2 separate regions of the Homo sapiens genome follow, and region 1 is linked to region 2. The links are contacts of gene promoters, found by promoter capture Hi-C in human tissues and cell types (Jung and others, 2019). All regions are on one chromosome and are shown on one strand. Each heading gives the region's core, a stretch centred on a gene start or on the middle of the fragment in contact. The rest is flanking DNA. Distances are from core to core; before and after follow the strand shown. Region 1 overlaps SAMTOR (S-adenosylmethionine sensor upstream of mTORC1). Region 2 holds the start of GPR85 (G protein-coupled receptor 85).

Region 1 (4,590 bases), core at 332-2,831, 160 kb before region 2:
AGTACACAGATCTTTTCGAAAAATTTATTAGCTCAAGGAGAAATGAACAGTAACACCACCAAATAGATAAAGAATTACTTATATGTGAAAAAAATGAATAGGTGGTGCTAAGGTTCATGCATTTTTACATGCCAGGACCACTTGATTTTTATATACTTGATGTGTATAAAAATAATATTTTTTCTCAATAACTCTATCCTAATTCTCCTTTTTAAAACATACAAAGCACAGAAAATAAGTTAGCAAGTATATATGTGATGCCATTTTAAGATAAAAATATATTTACAAACCATATACCTGATAAGGGGTTAATATCCAAAAGATATATAAAAAAAACCTCAAACTGAATAGCAAAAAAACAAATAATCTGACTAAAAAATGGGCAATGACCTGAATAGATATTTTTCCAAAGACAACACAAAAAATGGCCAATGGGTATATAGAAGGGTGCTCAACAAAACTAATCATCAGGAAAATGCAAATTAAAACCACAATAAGATACTACCTCCCATCTGTTAGGATGGCTATTATCAAAAAGACCAGAGATAACAAGCATTGGTGAGGATGTGAAGAAAAGTGAATCCTGTATACTTATGTTGGGTATGTAAATTAGTACAGCCAAAACAGTATGGAGGTTCCTAAAAAAATTAAAAATAAAACTACTACATGATTCAGCAATCCCACTATGGGTATTTATCCAAAGGAAATGAAATCAGTATGTCAAAGAGATATCTGCAATCCTATAATCATTGCAGCATTACTCACAATAGCTAAGAAACGAAAATAAATGGAGGTGAATCTATAGTGAAAAGACATGTGAGACTGAGAGTATAGAGAGAGACCGACTGCAAAGAAGTATGAGAAAATTTTGGCAGTGATGAAAATGTTCTACGCCTTATTGTGGTAATGGTTTTACAGAGATGCATGCATTGTCAAAACTTACGGAATTATATACTTTAAAAAGACACAATTTACTGTACATGAATCATATCTCAATAAATTTAATTTTTAAAAATGATGTGCCACAAGCATGGTATATGTTACAAAATTAAGATTATATTTCATTAAATTTGAGGGCCATCAAATTCTCTAAAAAAGCAAAAAAATACATGAGTATCAAAAGTCTTAAACTTTTAGAAATTCAGAACAATTTATTTGATTCTGACTTAGGCATATTGCCAAATACGGGCCCTAAGATGCCTTATCTGTAGATGACAAGACTACCAAATTCAAGTTCAAAGTACCTTTAATGGTCATTTTCTCTAACACAAGGTAAGTAAAGAAACTCATGACTAAGTGCAAACAAGTTCAGCTACCATTTCAAGGCATTAAAACAAAATGTTCAGAATTCAGATTGTCTTACATAGTTAAGCCATACAACGACCAGTCTTCTCAGCTCTTGAGCACCTGATACAGTGACACATCTAAAAGTGGGATAAAAAACATCCAAGGTGTTTGGTAATTAAGAGCCAAAAAGTAACCAGAAAACAAAAAGTTTGAAAACCTGCATCTTATAGCCAACATGTTATGAATAGTCATTTCTCTAATGTGGGAAGAAAACACCACCAATATTCTGACATGCTAAAAAGGTTGGACTTTTCATATAAAAACTTAGAAACACAAACAGCAAAAGGGGCAAAAAAAAAAAAAAGAAGAAAAAGAAAAAGTCATTTTAATACTGAGAAGACTACAGAACAGTCTAGGTAAAAATTCCAGGAGCCATCCAGTCTTTAATGTCATAGTCCTTAAATGCATTGAAGCAGTATAGCTACAGATAAAAGAGCTGTTATTTTTAAATTTCTGTATTTTACAAGCTTAGTGTGTTTCCTATATGCCAAATGTTGTTTTAAGTGCTTTTCAAATATTAACTCATTTAATTATAATACCAATCCATTGAGGCAGATATTTTACTTTATAGATGAGGAAACTGAAGTAGAGCGATTAAGTAAACTTTTCCAAGGTTACACAACAAACCTGGTAGTCAAAAGCTAAAGTCATGCTCCTAACCACAAACTTTGCTTCTCTTCATAAGTTTTTAATTCATGAACTTTCATGGATATGAGCAAAGCTTTGCAACAGAGGAAAGTACACAGACTCTACTAACCACAAACAAATGGTCTTTTGTCAGTCAAATGCAGTTATTTAGTCTCTGCAACTGCATTATTTGTTAGATTTCTGGCAGTGGTTCTCAACTCTGGCTGCCAATTCTGGCTGCACATTGGAATCACCCAGAAGTTTCATTTAACTGGTCTGGAGTGGCAACTGGTCATTTAGTTTAACACTCCCCGGATGAATCCAACGTGTAGCTATGGCTTAAAACCAATGGTGTATAGCAAGGTTGTGAGCTTAAAAGCCTGGCAAAATAATATAGAGAGCAGGGGGTTGGGACAACCTTAAGAGTCCAATTTAATTAACAAAAAAAAAAACACAACAAAACAAATCAATGCATGGATTAAACTTAATATCTACAAACACTGGCTCACGGTGTATCTTCTGTTCTTGGAACAGCCTTTTATTATAAACATATCAACGATAAAAATACTTACTCCAAAATGCAAGTCTGTGAACACATCCTATAAGGCAGATGGAAAGAAATCAAGAAAAATCATAACCAATGTCACCAACATGTTATTCCCTTGTGAAAGTGAACTTCACAGGTGGGTCTATGACCACACAGAGCACTTGCTTAGTTTAATTTTCAACTTTCAAACAAAAGGATTTATGAACAGCCTTTTGGAACTTAATTTTCATATGTTCAATTAAAAAGTCTTACCCTAATTTCTATATAAATGGAAATGGATACTCACATGCTGCTCTAAATGCATGAAGATTAACCACCTATTCTAAAATAAACACAGCAATGGGTATTAGTGTATCTACACTTAAAGCACAATAGGTCAGTATAGTTTAGTGGTTGTCAGATGTTAGATTTTGTAACTAGTATAAATTTCACTTCAAATTTAAGAGACTGATATATTGGGGTTGAAAAATTTTTATCTGTAAATATAAACAAATACACAAAACTATTACTTTTTTTTTTTTTTTCTTTTTTCGGGATGGAGTCTCGTTCTGTCACCCAGGCTGGAGTGCAGTGGTGCAATCTCGGCTCACTGCAACCTCCGCCATCCAGGTTCAAGTGATTTTCCTACCTCAGCCTCACAAGTAGCTGGGACTACAGGCACATGCCACCACACCCGGCTAATTTTTTGTATTTTTAGTAGAGACAGGGTTTCACCAAGTTAACCAGGATGGTCTCTATCTCTTGACCTCGTGATCCACCCGCCTCGGCCTCCCAAAGTGCTGGGATTACAGGCATGAGCCACCGTACCCAGCTCACTATTACCATTTTTATTACCAACATACAGAGAGACATACATTATACCCACTACAACATCCTTATGAGAACAAATAAAGATACCATAATGAGTGTAAGGATATATTTACCATTATATTTATAGAAAAATAGAATGCTATTCAGAATAACTTGGACCATTTAAAAAAGGGTAAAATTAATCTAATATACTCAATTTAAGAAGACATGAGCATAAATTAGAAAACATGGGTATCCACAAGTTAAAATTTTAAAGTTATGAATATAAAAAGATAAAACTCAACTATCTGGAAATATTTACATTAGCTTCTTCTGTGCGTGTGCCTTAAATCTACAAGGCCTGGTGCTATGTACTAAGGCTACAGAGATAAAAGGCAGAGTTTTACTCAAGAAACTAAGTTTAGTAGATAAAACAGACAAATGAACTGGTAAGTTATAAATACCATAAAGGTAGGCACAATCATGCTATGGAAGCACAAGGTAAGAGGGGCACTTAGGTAGGGGCACTTACTTATGTAGGATTCTGTGCTAGGTGCTGTACACAACTGTGTTTGTGGGGATGGGGTTTGTGATGATTAATAAAAACCCAGATCTTTGTTTCAAGAGTTTACATTACAATAAACTGGCCTAAAAGACCAACCACGAAGAGGTCATTTCAAAAGAGGCCTGAAGATCGGACTCTAAACCATAATCCTTAATAATCTAGATTTAAAGTTGTTAAAAACATTATGCTGCTAAACTTCCAGTACAACAGTACTTCTGATTTAAAGAGGAACATTTTAGAAAATTTTACTTGAATTGGTGGGGGAAGGAAGAGGGGCAGGGATAATGCCCAGGAGCCATCCAATCCTTAATGCTACCCTGAAGACATAAAGACAGAATAGCTACGGTTAACATCTCTATTATTTTTGTTACTTAAGGAGGGTAGGGATCCTGCTGCTTTTGCTAATTAGCAAGGACTAGTAAAAACAGGAGCTCCAAAAGTACTGTATGATAAAACAGCAAAGTCTCCACTTAATCGTCAAATGTGAACAATGTATGAGATTGCTCTAGGAAATTAACAAAAATACTGAAGAAGATATGATTATAATAGGAACTATGTGACAAATGTGCCTGACTTATTTAGACACTATAGAAATGGCTACCAAAAGATAGAAAACTAATATAAAAATGTGTCAAAACTATCAATGAAGAAATTTAAAGACAACTTCTTAAAGTGTGCCTTAAAAACAAGTAGCTCCTTACACAGTGGTGCAGCG
Region 2 (4,729 bases), core at 1,806-4,305:
GGTACTACAGGCCCTCTTGCAAAAACTCTCCAATAACAGGCCACCAGGTAGGGGCCCCACAAGGTTAGAAACAGAAAAGTCATTATATAGAACATTCTGCTGATTCTTTTCTCCATTTTGAACTCGTCTAAGACCAATAGCCTTCTTCTGCCTGTGGTGTTTGCATTTTGCCTGATGCCCAGCAAGGTGGGTGGTGTGGGACCCCTTCCAAATCCTGCTAGCCAATTGGCAGCTGCCTGGCCACTGGCTCCAGGACCATGAAAAGTCCAGTTCTGGCTGACTGCTGCTACAAACTGGACTGGCTTCATTTTTCTTCGATCGTGGACGAAAAATATCAGCTTGAGGTAGACAAGCTGTGTGGCTAGGAGGATGAGAGCAAGAAGCAGCATAAATCCTAAGGAATCATTAGCCCTGAAGGAGCGGTGTTGGAAGGTGCATTGATCTTCCTCCCTAATGAATGAGTAAGTGCCCACGTCTAAAACCGGGGGAAATGCCATGGCCACAGACAGAGTCCACACCATACAGATCACAGCCAGACACGTCCAAAAGGTCAGCCTCTTTGTATAGAAGCGGTGATGGGCGATAGCTAAATATCTGGTGACACTGATGCAGAAGAGCATGAAAGCAGTGTGGAAACAGGACAAAACCCCCAGAAAGGCAATCACTTTGCAAGTCAGAGTCCCATAAGTCCAGGTAGAACCATTTTTGACAGAGTTGAACACAAATGGGAAACAAATTGCAGATCTGAGGATATCTGAACAGCAAAGATCCAACAGGAAGTAGTAAGGTGCTCTATGCAAGGTCTTATCTTTCACTAGCAAAATGGAGATCAGGAGGTTGCCCACCACGCTGACTCCTATTATGAAACCCAAGGAAGTCAGTTTCAGAAAGGCTGTTAGAGGCGAGAGATTTTGCAAAATGTTGTCAGCTGCATGGCTATAGTTCGCCATAGATGGATGGAGGATAAGGATACAGCCTCAGTCAAGTCTCATGATCTAGATATAAGAACAAGGAAAAGATAGATCCATACATTTTACTGAAAATATAATCCACAAAGAGAACTGATCTGATCTGCAGTCATGCTTCCTCTTTTCTTCCACTTGTTTTGCCATCAGAATATCTGAAAAAAAAAAAAAAAAAAACCTATCAGTTCTTAAGTTAACAAGCAATGATGTCAGACAGTGCTAACAAAGCTGTTCACTTATGGGGAAGCAAATAAAGTTTTAATTTTGAATACTAATATTTGCTTTACTAAATATTTTTGCTCGAGATTTCAGAGAATTGGCTTGTTTAGTTTTTCAAGCTAAGTGAATTTTAAAATGTCCCTATTTTGGACAATATACATTTGATAGGGTAACTTTAGGAGAGAAGGAATAAAATGTCCCATTCTTGTAAAATATGCCAGTCCAGGAATTAACCACTAGAATTGCAATGGAATCTACAAGATTGCTATTAGGAGGCAGAGACACTACCTACATTTATTTGAGATCTATTAGTATCTGTCAGTGTTTCACAGGCAGCTTCTCTGTTTGATGTGGGTCCAAAGAACCCGTGCAAAATATATCTTAAGTGCCACTATTCATGCTGCATAAGAGTATTTGTTGATTCATCTTAAAGCAAAATTTCAAAATTAACTTCAAAATTAATAGGAACTTACTTGTCCCAAGATTTGATGTGATTTAATCATTTGTCTTTCCCTCTCCACCCTACCCCCCATTTCTGGCAAATCTTTTAAGCCCACATGATTATTAAAATGGTTAATGTAAATATTGGACAGGGAAACACACCCAGAGGAATAATGCACTTCCATTTGTAAACCTTGGCTGCCTGGATTCAAATGAATATAACATGAACCTGTATTTCTTGGGCAATTAAGCCTTTCCCATTTACACTGATAACCTTTGTTGCAAATCACAAGTGGCTGCTTTTTAAAACAAAATGCACATTGTCTCGCAGGTGCCTGGACCACACCAGGGAAATCGGCTTCCTCTGTTATTCCCACCAAGCGTGTTTCTTTTGCCACTTCTCACTGGCCCGGAATATGCTGGTGGAAGCCCAGGCAAAACTGCGTTCGATGATTTTAATTTCCCCACCGGTACATCCTCGGGTAAATACCGATCGCATCATGCAACATTACGAAACCTGAAATCCGCCACCCCTGGATTTATAATGGGGGGAGGGTGGAGGAGGGGGAGAGGGAGAGAGACATGCATTACATACGCGAAGATGGGGAGAGAGATTGCTTCTGTGCTGCAAAGGAACCGTTCCCGGTGATTCGCAGTCTGATATTCCTCAGTCTTGTAAGGCTTTCCAGAAATGGAGCTCTCAGTAAGCCCTACTGAAGATGCATTGTCTGAATGTACTTCCATTATGCAGTTTATTGTCACAAAACACATACACACACACACACACACACACACACAGAGACACACACACACACACACACACACACAACCTGAGGGAGGGCTCTTTCTCGGTGAACCTGCAGTTTCATCAACACTGTGCATTCCCCCACATCCCCCAAACTTAACCAAGAGTATATCCTCCTACCTGTTGGTGTTGGATATCCCGACAGACTATAGCTTCTTTCTATAAATTGCTGATTTTTTTCTTTTTTTCTTTTTCTTTTTTTTTTTTTTTTTTTTGTTTTTTGTTTTTTTTTTTTTTTTTTTTGCCTTAGTGCCTTGACTGAGCATCCAGGCAGGGCTCGGCGGCGCCTGCGCGCTGGAGCCTCCTTGAGCTCCAGCCGCGTCCTCCCCTGTCGCAGCGGCACCGTCTCCCCCAGTAACGCAGGGGCCGCGGCGGCGGCGGCTGCGGTGGCGAGGGCGGCGGCGGGGCTGCTTCAGCCTCTGTGGAACCAGCAGGAACCCCTACCTGACTCCAGAGCTGGCTGGGTTTATTGACTGCCCTGTCCAATCCAACTGGCAGCATTAAGCTTTTGTCCCTTCGTGGCTGCTTCTGAACTTTTCCCTCCCCGCATTTGTAGTGGGGGGCTGGAAAGGCCCTTTCAGGACCTCAGGCCCATCCTCTTCCCAAAGGCAGCGCACGAGGAAGTCACAGTGCCCGTGACGCCCGCCCCCTCCCTCAGCTTCCCGGAACCCTAACCTTCCCCAGACACTTTCTTCCCTTTTCTTTTAGGGTGGTCCAAACCACCGGAGGCTTCTTTTATATATTTATTTTTAAGTGATGTCTCCAGCTAACCTTTAAATTTGCAGGTTAGCTGGAAAAAGACAAGAAAAGAATGGGAAAAAAGAAAAAAAGTTATTTATTTATTTATTTATCTTTTTCCCACAGTTAAAAATCTTTTCAATGGGGAAGAAGGGAAGGCACGTTAGGGCAGCTCTCTCTTTGTTAGTCATCTTCTATTCTCCAATGCACGCAAATATGCGTAAAAGTAGGGAGAAAGCTAAGTTCAGAGGACAACTACAATATGATTTACATTCAGTCTACCTTAAAGGATGTCACTAAAGAATCAGGCTTATAAAATGTTTAAATGGCTATTCCTGGCATTCCACCCCACCAAGCAACAGTATTCCTTTTCCCTTCTTACAAGTTCCGCTGACCAATGATGGGTGATGTCAAAGCAGTTATGTGTACGAGTTTCCTTTTTTCCCCTTTGTTATTACAGATGAAAAATACTAGAAATATAACAAATACGTAAAACTTACACCAGTCCAAACGGTCGGATGATACCACAGACACCACAAAGCCTGACACGTGGGTGCTTAGGAATGCCTCTAGAATCATGCATTTTCTTATTTTACCATTTCCGAAGAGTTTTGTTTGTGGAGGTGATATAAAATTTTAAGCAACAACTTCCCAGTTCTCCTACCCAAAACTAGCAGACACGCTTTCATTAATTCCCAATGTAAAACGTCTGCTTCTTTTTCTGCATGCTTTTTGCTTTATAATAATCTGTTAATGAAACAAAAAATAAAAATCTTCTCTACAGTAATAATCTGATCTTGAGACAGCAGTAAAATACCTCATTGCTGGGTGGTGAGATTGTGACATTCAGGGGAACTCAGGCCAATCAGCATACAGATAATATGGGTTAATTTACATACTGTATTTCTATTGGATGAGCCGAGGTAAAGCCTTATCTTGATGTCACAGTCGTTACACAAAGCCCTATGTTGGTAATACTGAAATGATGTTAAATTTCCCTGATTTGTTCTTGAATTTCCTACGTCCATTTAAATACATGGATAATAGTTTGTTTTTTTCGAAAAGAATATACACAAGGCACTAAACTTTGGCATTCCCTTAACCTAGAAAAATCAATCCTACAGCCATGCTGGAAGTAACTTGAGGGCATTTCCATTCAAATAAAACATTCCACTTTTTGCAAAGCAAATGAATTCAAAACTCAAAACCATGTGGTGGTTTGCAACTTCTAAGTAAAATGTCAAATTCGTTTTTATGAAACTACAAATCACTTCAACTTGTGCTTTTTTGCTTCCCAATAAATGCTTCAATGTACTTTGCAAAGAGTTATTTCCTGAATTTTTACAGTTTTAAAAAATGTATGGAATAAGAGGCTTAAGTTTGCTGAAGATTCATGATTGGTCAGATGTTAGGTTGTACAGATTAGGGAAAAGCTATTTTAAAGTAAATTAAAAGAGTCACTGCACTGCCAGGCCATGAAGCAGTAATATACTCTGCCAAAAGTTATAGGGCCAAGATCCAAGGGTTTTAACTAGTCTTATTCTTTAAGCAGATATTGATT

What was found. The method cuts DNA at HindIII sites, captures the fragments that hold promoters and counts their contacts. A contact is called where the count stands out against the background at its distance.
Region 1: a fragment that was not itself captured here is called in contact with the fragment with the promoter of GPR85 in region 2 in 1 of the 25 tissues and cell types used here (lymphoblastoid cells).

Annotation. Positions count from the first base shown.
Region 1 is chr7:112,928,891-112,933,480 of GRCh38, forward strand. The region is part of intron 1 of SAMTOR (S-adenosylmethionine sensor upstream of mTORC1); the gene reads right to left. Among named protein-coding and RNA genes, the nearest start is that of SAMTOR, 8.7 kb to the right of the region's middle. The HindIII fragment of the contact is 5,138 bases long and covers 1-4,150 here.
Region 2 is chr7:113,083,772-113,088,500 of GRCh38, forward strand. It overlaps GPR85 (G protein-coupled receptor 85), which reads right to left and starts at 3,056. Exons shown (of 3, transcript NM_001146267.2): 1 at 2,551-3,056; 2 at 2,221-2,338; 3 at 1-1,120. The coding sequence starts at 950. RefSeq lists a silencer at 2,742-2,801. The HindIII fragment of the contact is 9,773 bases long and covers 777-4,729 here.